2 separate regions of the Homo sapiens genome follow, and region 1 is linked to region 2. Evidence: promoter capture Hi-C in human tissues and cell types (Jung and others, 2019). All regions are on one chromosome and are shown on one strand. The core of a region is centred on a gene start or on the middle of the fragment in contact, and the rest is flanking DNA. Distances in the headings are between cores, read along the strand shown. Region 1 overlaps SKAP1 (src kinase associated phosphoprotein 1). Region 2 holds the start of HOXB9 (homeobox B9).

The links. The method cuts DNA at HindIII sites, captures the fragments that hold promoters and counts their contacts. A contact is called where the count stands out against the background at its distance.
Region 1: a contact is called between a fragment that was not itself captured here and the fragment with the promoter of HOXB9 in region 2, in 4 of the 25 tissues and cell types used here (H1 embryonic stem cells, mesenchymal stem cells, pancreas and 1 more).

What each region holds. Positions count from the first base shown.
Region 1 is chr17:48,397,337-48,403,985 of GRCh38, forward strand. The region is part of intron 1 of SKAP1 (src kinase associated phosphoprotein 1); the gene reads right to left. Among named protein-coding and RNA genes, the nearest start is that of SKAP1, 30 kb to the right of the region's middle. The HindIII fragment of the contact is 6,433 bases long and covers 1,458-6,649 here.
Region 2 is chr17:48,623,834-48,630,832 of GRCh38, forward strand. HOXB9 (homeobox B9) reads right to left here and starts at 2,525. Exons shown (of 2, transcript NM_024017.5): 1 at 1,920-2,525. The coding sequence starts at 2,436. HOXB-AS4 (HOXB cluster antisense RNA 4) reads left to right here and starts at 4,865. Exons shown (of 2, transcript NR_046611.1): 1 at 4,865-5,025. RefSeq lists an enhancer at 1,378-2,055 and a silencer at 3,466-3,621. The HindIII fragment of the contact is 6,922 bases long and covers 1-5,656 here.

The sequences.
Region 1 (6,649 bases), core at 3,424-5,923, 220 kb before region 2:
TGCTTCAGCCTCCTGAGTAGCTGGGACTACAGGCGCATGCCGCCAAGCCCGGCTAATTTTTCGTATTTTAGTAGAGATGGGTTTTCATCATGTTGCCCAGGCTGGTTTCGAACTCCTGAGCTCAGACAATCAGCCTGCCTCGGCCTCCCCAACTGCTGGGATTACAGGCGTGAGCCACCGCGCCCGGCCTGGACTGTCAATTTCATAAACATGTAATATTATAAATAAGTCACAGAAGGTCACAGGCCAATAGAAGCTAGAAAGAAATACCAATAAATAGAGCCGAAATAAAAAATAGAGCTGAACTGCAAAAATCAAGAACAAAAGGGCAGGCATTCAAAGAAATATTAATTAGCAGATGCATCATCAATGAAAATGACAATACAACCAAGTGAAGGAACCCACATGAGAAAGACAAATGTCTCCAAGAGAAGGGAACTGCAATTAATGTGAACATATATTATAAAATAGGGACATGATAGAAATACATAATATGAAACAAATCATGTTATGTTGAAGGAAGAAATTGCAGAGGGGGGGTGGTTCTACAAATTTTCAAAGACAAAATACATTGATAATGATTACAACTGCCAGAAACACTGGCTACACATTTTATTCTGCACAAAAGGTTTGTCATCCCCCAAAAGCGTATAAATAATATAGTTAAAATTTTCCACCTCCAAAAATTGTGCGTGTAATATGAAACTGTATCATATATATCAGGAGTCCCCAACCCCTGGGCCACACACAGGAACCTTTATTTCCTCAGTGATCTGATAATTATGAAATTTTAAAGAAAGGGCCACATGGCAGGAGGTGAGCAGCAGATGAGCAAGTGAAGCTTCATCTGTATTTACAGCTGGTCCCCATCACTTGCATTACCACCTGAGCTCCAGCTCCTGTCAGATCAGTGGCAGCATTAGATCCTTATAGGAGCACAAACCCTATTGTGAACTGTGTATGTGAGGGATCTAGGTTGTGTGCTCCTTATGAGAATTAATGCCTGACGATCTGTCACTGACTCCTGTCACTCCCAGATGGGACCATCTAGTTGCAGAAAAACAAGCTCAAGCCTCCCACTGATTCTACATTATGGTGAGTTGTATAATTTTTTCATTATATATTACAATGTAATCATAATAGAAATAAAGTGCATAATAAATCTAATGCTCTTTAATCATCGCCAAACCATCCCCCCACCCCCGGTCCATGGAAAAATTGTCTTCCATGAAACCAGTCCCCAGTGCCAAAAAGGTTGGGGACCCCTGATACATACTATCAAAATATTGCTATGAATTTATATAGTTGGATAAGCACACCTAAAAATTTGTTTTATATTCACGTCATTTAACAACGCCAGGCCGGGCGTGGTGGCTCACGCCTGTAATCTCAGCACTTTGGGAGGCCAAGGCGGGTGGCTCACGCCTGTAATCCCAGCACTTTGGGAGGCCAAGGCGGGCGGATCATGAGGTCAGGAGATTGAGACCATCCTGGCCAACATGGTGAAACCCCCCGTCTCTCTAAAAATACAAAAATTAGCTGGGCATGCTGGCACACCCCTGTAGACCCAGCTACTTGGGAGGCTGAGGCAGGAGAATCACTTGAACCAGGGAGTTGGAGGTTGCAGTGAGCTGAGATTGCATCACTGCACTACAGCCTGGAGACAGAGCAAGACTCCGTCTCAAAAAGAAACAAACAAACAAACAAAAAAAACCACCAAACAAAAAATCCTAAATAGCCATCGCTAGGACTTTTGATGAGATACAAAGTCCTGGAAATTGAATATTTCACAAAGGACCACCATCAACATCCAAGCTCTGCATTGTATCTATTGCATATGTGATTTAATGGGTTCCACTAGGGTCCTTTGAATGCTAACGAATGAGGAAATGGGAAGCTGAATTAAAAGGCAAAAATAAATGACATCTAAGATTCAATTTATGTAATATATCATAACAATAGAATAAAGGAAAAAAACCACATGATCATCTCACTAGACACAGAAGAAGCATTTAACAAAAGTCAACAGCCTTTCGTGATAAAAATTCTCAACAAACTAGGAATAGAAGGAAGCTTCCTCAAACTAATAAAAAGCATCAACACAAACCCACAGCTAACATTGTACTTAATGATTAAAGACTGGCCAGTCATGGTGGCTCGTGCCTGTAATCCCAACCTTTTGGGAGGCCGAGGCAAGAGGATCACTTAAGGGCAGAAGTTTTGAGACTAGCCTAGATGATATAGAGAGATTCCATCTCTACAAAAGATAATTTTTAAAAAATTGGCTGGGCATTGTGGTGCATGCCTGTAGTCCTAGCTACTCAAGAGGTTCAAGTGGGAGGATCACTTGAGCCTGGAAGGTTGAGGCTGCAGTGAGCCATGACTGTGCCACTCCAGCCTGGGTGGCAGAGCAAGACTCTTGTCTCAAAAAAAAAAAAAAATTAAAAAGAAAATAAATGGTCAAAGACTGAACACTTTCCCCACGTTCCTTAGATCAGGAATAAGATAAGGATGTCTGTTCTCACCACTTATACTGAACATTGTACAGGTGATGCCAGCCAGGACAACTAAGCAAGAAAATGAAATAAAAAGCATTCAAACTGGAAAGGAAGAAGTAAAACTATTTCTATTTGCAGATGACATCCTGTATATGGAACACCCTAAGGAATCTATTAAAAAACTATTAAAACTAATAAAAGAGTTCAGCAACTTTGCAGGATATAAGATCAATGTAAAAAAATCAACTGTATTTCTTTTTTCTTTTCTTTTTTTTTTTTTTTGAGACGGAGTCTCACTCTGCCTCCCAGGCTGGAGTGTAGTGGCGCGATCTCAGCTCACTGCAACCTCTGGCTCCTGGGTTCAAGCAATTCTCTTGCCTCAGCCTCCTGAGTAGCTGGGACTACAGGCACGCACCACCACACCTGGCTAATTTTTGTATTTTTAGTAGAGACAGGGTTTCTCCTCGTTAGCTAGGCTGGTCTCAAACTCCTGACCTCAGGTGATCCACCCGCCTGGGCCTCCCAAAGTGCTGGGATTACAGGTGTGAGCCACCACGCCCAGCCAATCAACTGTATTTCTATATAGTGGCAATGAACAAACAAAAAGGACATTAATAAAATTCCATTTAAGATAGCATGTAGGATGGGCATGGTGGTCCATGCTTGGGATTATTCTCAGCACTTCGGGAGGCCAAGGCGGGCAGATCATTTGAGCCCAGGAGTTGGTCAACATGATGAAACCCCGCCTCTACAAAAAATACAAAAATTAGCCAGGCATGGTGGTGCACATCTGTGGTCCCAGCTGCTCAGGAGGCTAAGGTGGCCTCATTTGAGCCCAGGGAGGTTGAGGCTGCAGTGAGCTGAGATCACATCACTGCACTCCAGGCTGGGTGACAGAGCAAGACCTTATCTCAAAAATAAAAATTAAAAAAAAAGAAAAGAAATAAAGCAGGTAAAAGAATTAAGAATTAAGCACTTACGAATAAATAGAACATATTCTATGTTCATGATCAGAAGACTTAATATCGTTAAAATGGCAATACTCCCCAAACTGATCTAAAGCTTTTATGTAACCCCTATCAAAATCCCAGCTGGCTTTTTTTGTAGAAATTGAAAAGCTAATCCTAAAATTAACTTGGAAATGTAAGGAATCCAGATAGCCAAAACAATTTTGAAAAAGAGAGACAATGGCCGGGCGTGTTGGCTCACACTCGTAATCCCAGCACTTTGGGAGGCTGAGACGGGTGGATCACCTGAGGTCAGGAGTTCAAGACCAGACTGGTCAACACGGAGAAACCCTGTCTCTACTAAAAATACAAAAATTAGCTGAGTGTGGTGGCTAGTGCCTGTAATCCCAGCCACTTGGGAGGCTGAGGCAGAATAATTGTTTGAACCTGGGAGGCCGAGGTTGCAGTGAGCCGAGATCATGCCACTGCACTCCAACCTAGGCAACAGAGCAAGACTCTGTCTCAAAAAAGAAAAAAAAAAGGAAAGAAAAAGAAAGACAAATTTGGAGGACTCACACTTTCTGACTTCAAAACTTACCACAAAACTACAGCAATTAGGAAAATATGGTACTGGCATAAGGACAGAGATAAAGTTCAAAGGAATAGAATTGGGAATCCAGAAATAAACCCTCACACTTATGGTCAATTTTTGCAAGAGGGTCAAGACAATTAAATGTTGAAAAAGTTGTTTTTTCAACAAATGGTGCTGAGACAACTGAGTATACACATGCAAAAGAATGAAGTTGGATTCCTACCTCACACCATATAAAAAAATTAACTAAAAATGGATCAAAGACCTAAATATAAGAGCTAAAACTATGAAACTCTTAGAAAAAGACAGGTGTAAATCTTTGGGTCCTTGGATTAGGTAATGGTTTCTTAGATATGACACCAAGAAAAAAAAAGCAACCAAATACAAAAATAGACAAACAAGGCATCATCAAATTTAAAAGCTATTGTGCTTCAAAGAAGGCCAACAAGAAAGCAAAAGGATAACCCACAGAATGAGAGAAAAGCTTTTGCAAATCATATAGCTGATGAAAGACTTGTATGTAGAATATATTAAAACTCTTATATTTCAGTAATAATAAGACAAATAGCCCAACTGAAAAATGAGAAAAGGAACTGAATAGACATATCTCTAAAGAAGATACACAAATGACCAATAAGCACATTAAAAGATGTTCAATATCACTAGCCATCAGGGAAATGCAAATCAAAATCATGAAATACCACTTCACACCCACTAGAATGGTTACAGGCGAAAAGAACAACAATGAATGTTGTTGAAAATGTAGAAAAATTGGAAACCTTATACATTGCTGGTAGGAATGTAAAACAGTGCAGCCACTTAGAAAAATAATCTAGCAGTTCCTCAAAAGGCTAAACAGAGAATTATCATAGGATCCAGAAATTATATTACTAGGAAATACCCAAAAGAAATGAAAACAGGTGCTGACACAAAAACTTTACACAAATATTCATAGCAGCATTTTTTTTTTTTTTGAGACAGAGTCTCGCTCTATTGCCCAGGCTGGAGGGCAGTGGTGCGATCTCAGCTCACTGCAACCTCTGCCTCCCGGATTCAAGTGATTCTCGTGCCTCAGCCCCCCAAGTAGCTGGGATTACAGGTGCATGCCACCATGCTGGGTTAATTTTTGTATTTTTAGTAGAGATGGGGTTTCATCACTTCGCCCAGGCTGGTCTTGAACTCCTAGACTCAAGCAAACTGCCTGCCTTGGCTTCCCAAATTGCTGGGATTACAGGCGTGAGCCACCATGCCTGGCATAGCAGCATTATTCTTAATAGCTAAAAAGTGGAAACAACCCAAATATCCATTAACTGATGAATGGATAGATAAAATGTAGCATACAATGGAATATTATTCAGCAATAAAAGGAAATGAAATGCTGATATGTGCTACAACATGGATGAATCTTTAAAATCATTATGCTAAGTGAAAGGAGCCAGTCACAAAGGACCACATATCGTATGATTCCATTTACATGAAATGTATAGAATAGGCAGATCTAAAGAGACAGAAAGTAGATAAAGAAAGTCAGGAAGAGGGATTGGAGAGTGAAGGCTAAGAGGTTCAGGTTTTCTTTCGGTGTAATGAAAATGTTCTAAAATTTACTGTGGTGATAGTTACACAATTCTGTGAATATACTAGAAGCCATTGAGTTGTATGCTTTAAATGTGTGAGTTGTATAGTATGTGAATTATATCTCAATGAAGCTGTTTAAAAAAATAAATAAATACCTGTAATCTCAGCATTTTGGGAAGCCAAGGTAGGAGAACTGCTTGAGCCCAGGAGTTCAAGACAAGCCTGGGCAAAAATCAAGACCCTGTCTCTACAAAAAAAAAAAAAAAAAGTTTTTAATTAACTGGACATGGTGGTGCACGCCTGTAGCTACTTGGGAGGCTGAGACAGTAGGATCCATTGAGCCCAGGAGTTCAAGGTTGCAGAGAGCGGTGATTAACCCACTGCATTCCAGCTGGGTGACAGTGCAAGACTCTGTCTCAAAATACTATATTGAATATTTTTTATTACATTTACACTTTGAAAATCATAGTTAAAATATATATACATATATATATATGTATCAGTGTGTGTGTGTGTATAAATAACAACACCTACACATATCCTTTTGAGCTTTCAAAATTTCAAGGAAAGTGAAAACATCTCTCAAGCACCCAGAGAGAAAAAATAAGACACCTACAGAACAACAGCAACAAGAACAACAAAATCAAAATGGCCTTGCTACAAAATAAGCATCAGAAGATGAGACGTGTACAAAGTTTTAAAGGAAAAATGGTGTGCTCTAAGAATTCCAAGCATAGTCAAGATGTTGGTTTGGCCATATAGAAGGAGAAAATCTTCTGAAGTATATGTTCTGATCCACAAAGAGAAAGAGGTGGTGATAAATGTCAAACTGCAAAACAAGTTAAATCTAGATCACAGCCGGGCACAGTGGGTAACGCCTGTAATCCCAGCACTTTGGGAGGCAGAGGCGGGCAGACCACTTGAGGTCAGGAGTTTGAGACCAGCCTGGCCAATATGGCGAAAACCCATCTCTACTAAAAATATAAAAAAATTAGCCAGGCATGATGGCGGACACCTGTAATCCTTGCTACTTGGGA
Region 2 (6,999 bases), core at 1,275-3,774:
GGGGAGCACTGGGGGCTCACAGATAACTTATGGTTGCAATAGTCTCTCTCCTTTTCAGCTCCTGCTCAGCTCACAGTTTGGTTAACGCAAGTGCAGGGAAATTAGGGAATAAAATTGCTCCAGTCCCAAGGTGGGGAGCCAGGGGTGATGTGGAGGTAAAAGGAAGCCCTTCACAGCACACCTAGCCTTAATTGATCCTATGTGGGGGCTGGAGGGGAGAAGAGGGTAACCGAGTGGAAGAGAGGAAACAAAAATATATACAGGCTTCTCTTCTTACCTTCTCTCCCCCTACTCTGGAACTCAAAAAAGTTGCCAAATAAAGCTAAGCCAATTAAAAATAACAGCCACCAGCTACTAGCTTCCTTCTCCCCAAGTGAAAAACACTGGATTTTTTTATATAAAAAATTTGGTTCATCCTACACTAAGTACCGTGTCTTACCAATTTGCAGCGCTATTTCCTTAATGTGATTGCCTGGGATGGGACCCGCAGCCGCATTAAATATGAAAGAGGGAAAAAACTGTTAATAATTGATCCTAGCCAAATGGCTGCCTTGCCATAATGGGCTTTTCAGGCAGAATTTGGGGGTTTAGGGTGGGGGATCTGTTTGGGAGTGTGCGGGGAGGGTTGGGGAAGAATGTGTTCCCTAAATGCCAGCTCTTAGGATTCCACCTGGCAGGTTGGAGGTGACAGGACCCTGCAAGGAATGGGGCTGCTCTTTACTCTCCAGCAGGCAAGGATGCTCTAAAGGGCCCTGGGGCCACTCCGTCAATGGGAAATCTAGCAGGGCAAGGAGAGACTAAAACATCCCTACTTCCCAAAAAGAGTAAGAAACGAGGACCTGATCCACCAGCCTGCGAGTCATTGTTTGAGGCTGAGTTCCCTCACCGATGAGCCCTTCTCAACCTTAAAAATAAATAATAGGAGAACCCTCTCTTCTCATCTAGTAGCACCTCCTGAAAATCAGCCAGACTTGGCGTTCTGGCCGGGGTGCTTTTGAGGAGTGGGAGGTGACGGGAAACTACCCACAAAGGGTAAAGTTCTCCGCCTCTCTGCAACTCTCTCTTCCCCCCACCCCTCCTCTCCCCGGGGTCCCTTCGAGATGCCCCGATATTCGGAAGCGATTCCCCGACTCCCCAAGAGGCGGACAGCCCGGGCTGGGGCTCGGGAGCCCCGCAGAGAGCAGCGGGGGACCGCAGAAAAGGAAGCGGTAGCCCCTGCGAGGACGCCGAGGAGGAGAGGGGCCACCGGAGGGAAGGCTCCCGGGGAGGGGCCGGCGCATCCGGGGAGGGGGCTCAGTCACCGCGTCCTGGGCTTCCCCCGCCCCTCCTGTCGCCGGTTGCGGACTCTGCGCGGCTACAGCGCGAGATCTGCTAGGAACAATCCTCCGCCAAGCTGTTGCATCGCAAATAAAATCCTAATGAGCTCCCTCCCCCTTCCCCTTGGCCGGCTTTTACGGTCTGCGCGTGGCGCGGGGAGCTCTGCCAGCCGCACGGCCCCGGGCAGCCCAGTGCGCTCCGGCCCTTGCCCTCGCCGGCTCTCGGCCTCGCTGGCCGCTGGCCCCGGCCCCCGCCAGCTCCTCTCCCGGCCGTCGCCGGTCTCTGGCCGGGCTTTCAGCTGGGGCCTCCGGGAGAGAGGGGGAAAGAGGGCCGAGAGAGCTGCAAGTCGATCCCCGAGCCCCTGTTCCCCGCAGGACTTGGAGAAGTGGGGGCAGCGCTCCTCTGGCGGCCTCAGTCTCCCCTTCTAGAGCACGCAGCTTTCCCCTTCCCTCCGTCTTTCCTTCCTCTCCCCTCCTCCTCCCGGCCCGCTCTCCGGCCACCGCCGCAGTTTCCCTTCACATTGTCCGCAGTTTATTGCCTTTCCCCTCCCCGCCCCCCTCCTGGCCTTCGGCCTGGGTATTTCCTCACTTTTTATAACTTACTTTGATCCGGCCTCTCTTTGTCCTCGCTTCCTTCGCAAATTTTATTGTCCCCGTAGCCGGGTCTTTGATTAGACAGCACGGCCTCCCTGCCCGCCGAAGTTTCCAAACTGTACTCGGGCGTGCCCTGTTTGAGCAGCTCCCCAGGCGCGCCCAGCAGCGGCTCCGCCTTCACCGCCGCCTGGCCCTGCCCCGGGGCCGCTTCGCCGCGCGGCGCCGGCTCCAGCCAGGTGCGGAGGTACCTGCTCTCGGCCGGCGGGACGCCCTGGGGCTGGATGTAAGGGTGGTAGACGGACGGCAGGCTCCCGGACGCGTGCGGGCTCAGCGGCGCCCAGGAGGCGCCGAACACCGGCGCTTTGGGCTGGAAGCTGCACGAGGGGAACTCCAGGTGCTCCGCGTGGCCCGGCTGCCGCGAGCTCGCGTACTGGCCAGAAGGAAACTTGGCTGGAGGCGCGTCCTCACTCTCGTGACTTATGATCGAGTCGACATAATAGCTGCTAAGCGTCCCAGAAATGGACATTCTCAGACATTATCCGGGCGCTTGCAGGGGGAAGGGAAGCGCTCGCGCGGCGGCGCCCAAGCAGGGAGAGGTGGCACCCGGACCGGTGTGAGGGCTTTCGGACGCGACCCCCCCAGCCCCCCACCCTCCCACCCCCACCCCCTGCTCAACTTCTCAGCCAACAAAGTACAGTGGAGCAGCCCGTCTCAGCTCTCCTTGCAAAATGATTGGTCAAAGTTTTTCCGACTGCCTGATAAAGCGTCAGCTCCGACATAAATCAATCGGGCGAGGGGGCTGCGCTCTCGCTGTCATCCGTCCGCACCGCACTCCATATCGAGGATGGATTGTTTTATGCTGATGCAATGTGCTATCACGTCAGGGCTCCGGCGGCCACGTAACCTCAGCCCCAGCTACCGGCCGCCCGGTCCCCCCCTCCCGCTGCAGGAAGGGGGGCAGTTCTCAACATGGGGCGGCGGGGGCGGAGGAGAGGCGGAGGGAAGCGGCGGGCTGCCTTGGGAGGGACGCAGGCTGTAGAGCCCTCTCCCCAGGCGGGTCGGGGAGGGAGGGAGAGCAAGGGCGGAGGGAGGGAGAGAGCCCCAGCCCGGGGAGAAGCCATAGAGGCCCGAGAGGATACTGGAAGAGGAGGTGCTCCTGTCCCCCCACACACACCTCCACCCCGCAGGCCCTCATTTCCTCTTCTCTTTCCCCTTGACAAAAGATGTTTATTAAACAACAACAGCAGCAGCAATCCACAGGAGATGAAGTAAAATGATGAGGGGAAAAGTTGGGGATTTTAGGACGTTGTCCGCTTTGGAGGGGGCTCTCCTTGCACTCTTTGTAGAGATTTACATGACTGCGAGCTTCCCTGGGCCCCTCAGTAGCTGAGGGAGGAGGAGAGAGGTGAATAAAACGACTGAGTGTCCAAGAATCCACTATCTGTCCTGAAATTAGAAACTACTTGAGGTTAAAGGGATCCATCAGGTCCCGGAAACGTGAGCCTAGGAAAGAGTTTAATACAAGGAACCAGAGCGCCTTTACATTTATTGGGCCTTTCTCTGACTCTGGCCAGAAGGATGGATTTAAGATGGTGGTGGTGACGTGGGGGGTGGGGGTGAGGGAAGCCATTTCTCCTTTTCTCCACTGAATAACCACCCAGGCCCCTAAATTTGCCCTGATGAGGGAGCTAAATAGGAGAAAGGGTTAAGGCCACTTTCCTGAGGTGTGACCAGAGCAGAGGCCTGGGAAAGGATCCCCAGTCAGCAAGGGAAGGGGTCCCAAGTTATCTCCCCTTCCATCCAAAGAGGAAGGAGCCTGGGCTGAGTTTTCAGCCCTCCTGTACTACTCCTCTCACCTGAGGCTCCTGCTCTGGAGATTTCCAAACACCGATATAGGGGCCAGTGTGGACAGCGAGCCCATGGTCAGTCTCTTCCCCTCACTGCCTTACCCCCTGCAGACCCCTTCATTGGAGCTTCCAAATAGCCCTTTTTATATATATCTATTCTGTGGCCCTGCACAGGGACTCCCCCGGGGCCCACCGACTGGCTTCCTCGCTCCTCTCCCAGCCCCTGCTCCTCAGCTTCTGCCCTGGTTGCAGTCGCCTCTCCTGGCACTTGGGGAGGTGTGACCCCTGGACAGACCCAGTTCTCCTCTGGTTAGGCTCAGGGGTAGATTGGGGTGGATTTCTCGGCAACTCTCTGACTCTGAGTCCTAATAAGGCAGGCTGCCCTCAGTCCGGTCCTTTTAGCAAAAGAGGGGCCACTCTAACTTGAGTCCGTATCTTTTTGGCCACCTACCCCTCTGCCTTGTAGAAGGCTGCGGATCACCTCCCACACAGGCACACACTCCCACCCGCTTGTCTTTCCAAATGAAGCCATCTCGTGTCATTACACGTGAAATACGAGGGTGAAGCGCCATATTTCTTCACATTATGGCGATTTCAAAATGATTTTTTAAAGATCAATGCCGGCGCCCATCTGGCCCCCTCCTTTCCCACCCCTGCTCTCCGAGGGTGACAGCCCGGCAGATCCGTAACCAAACAGCATGAAGGTCTGCCTTTTCCATAGGACCCAAGTGGGGAAACAAAAATCCGATGCAAATTCTTCCAAGCAGAGGTTGGACGCTTGGGAAAGTCGAGGGAGCTCCCCGGACTCACCAGCGAAAAAGCTGGGCACTGAGCGAATGAATCACAGTTAAGGCAAAGCACCTGTTCTCAATTTGCCAGCCCTATGAAGTCTGCTGTTGGCTTTACCTGTCATAAATACACTCTTCAGGAAAAAAGATTCCCTCCCCCGCCATAAATAATGGTGTTATGAAGCATGGTGGGCTGAGTATATGATTTCTGTAGTATATAAATTAGGGCCTAAAAGGACATGTTTACTACGGACTGGGGTTTTTTTATTTATTGAAAAGTCACAGCGCTGGGCTGTCCTTAAGACCCAAGCAAAGCAGGCACTGCGCTCTGACTGCCGTCTTCCTGGTTCCCCTTCCCTCTCCTGCCCTGACTTTGCAGCTGCCTCTCTGCAACAAGAGAGGAGTCAAGAGGACCACTCAGTTTAGGGAAGAAGTTAGAGGAAGAAGAACACTTGGGCTGATGGCTTGTGCTCTACAAGGGTGAGTTCTCCCAGCAGACAAGATTTGGGTTTGTGGGTTGCTGTCTGTCTGAGGAGTTGCCCTTTATTCCCTGGTGGCTCCTGAGTGCTGGGTGAGAAGGGGACTTAGGCCTCTTTTCTGAGATCGGAACTTAGCCTTTGCTCATGAAGAAGCTGGAGAGTGGAGACAATTTTAAAATGACAGGTTTTGGAGGTCTTGGTCTTCTCAGGGAGCAATGACTCCAGAGGAAAGAGAATGAACTGGCCCCTAAGCCCTGTAGTCTGCATCCCAGCTCTTTGCCGTCCAGGTAAATGCACCAAGCAAGGAGTCCCACCCCAGCCAAGCTTTCTGGAAAGCACTGCTGCCCCAAACTGGAGTTCAACTCCAGCTCAGGCAAATGATTAAAGGGTCAGCTGAGAGACTGTGGACTCCCTCCCACCAAAAAAGCCTTGTTTTCTCCCCAGACAATGGTACCCACCATGAAGGAGGATAGCAAACAGGATTGTGGCTCCTGGAGCCCAGCTTCCAAAGACACTTAGTAAAGGGGTTGCTTCAGTGGGGGTCACCTTATCCTAAGAGAGCAAAACTGCTCCATACCCCACCCCCAATCCTAAACAGAAAGAAGGAAAACCCTGCCTTCCCTTGCAGCCTTTTGCCATTCCCTGCACTGGAGCCTCGCCTGAACACAGCTGGGGCCAGTAGCTGGTAGCTTGGAGAAGGGCAAGCAGGGAAAAAAGCGCAGCTCCTGGCCACACTGGGGCCCAGAGCAGCCAACAGTGAGGCCGAGGTTTGAAGAGCAGAGGCCGACCAGCCGGTGAGTGCCTATGCTGTGGGGGTGACTTTTGGAAGGGTCCTTGTCAGTAAGAAGAGAGAGAAAATCTAGAGGAAGGGAAGGAAATGGGAGAAGAAAGAAAAACAATAAGTGAGAATGGGGAAAAATAGTTTGTTTTTAATTAATAAGCTTAGCTGAAATTTACGCGTGTTTAATGTAAATAGATGTGTGTGTCCTATATGTATATTTCAAATCAATATTTCTGTATGGGGAACCCAGTGTGCAAATGCACTCTGCTCTATACTGTATATAGAATATGTAATAAATAAATCTGCCCAACTATGAAACTTGCTGTGCTTGGGCGTTCGTGTATGCAGGATCTAATCGTGCATATGTGGATGCATGCATAACCTCTGTGAGTGATGGAGGTTTCTGATTCTGCTCGTGTAAGAAGATCAGTTACCCAAAAGGTTGTGTGTACATTTTTATAACCATCACACACCTATGGAAAAGGCAAAAGCTTGGGTATTTGTGTACTTGAATTATGGCTATAAAATATTAGCTAATTCAGATGTCGCACTTGAAAATCTGTCCCTTGACTTGATATTCAAGCAAAATATACAGCGTATCCTCAAACAAGTGCATATGACTTAACACTACGTTGATTCTACGACAACTTCTTTCCAAAATGTTTCTCTGGAAGGTAAAATAAATGCTTCAAAGTGGCCCAGAAGAGGTTATGAAATTTTGTGACTTCTTTGTTTGACCATAAAATCCTTTACTGTGTTTCTTACCCAAGACCGCAGGGACGGTGTGCATTGTGTGATGCCTATTTCATGACAGCGATGAGCGCGGGGGTGGAGGCACAGTTACTTATAAGCACATGTGTCTCACAGAATTATGAAGCAGAGGTGGACAGAGATGAGCCGAGTGTGAAAGTGACTGTGGAGGTCAAGCAAAAGCACTGCTGTGTACAACAAAATTAGAAAAGTCCCCAAATCTATGTCTCCAAGCACCAGAGGTATTTCTTCAGACTCAAGATCACAGTCCAGACCCACTCTGGGAAAGAGTGAGGCATGAGGACACTTGCCCCAGTGGGAAAGGACACAAGATCGCAAAATCCTTACCCTTTATGCAAAACGGCCTCCAAAACAGGTATCACATCGAATCTGCATACTCAGGTTCAAATCTCGGTGCTTCCACACCCCCCAAGTGGGGATCTT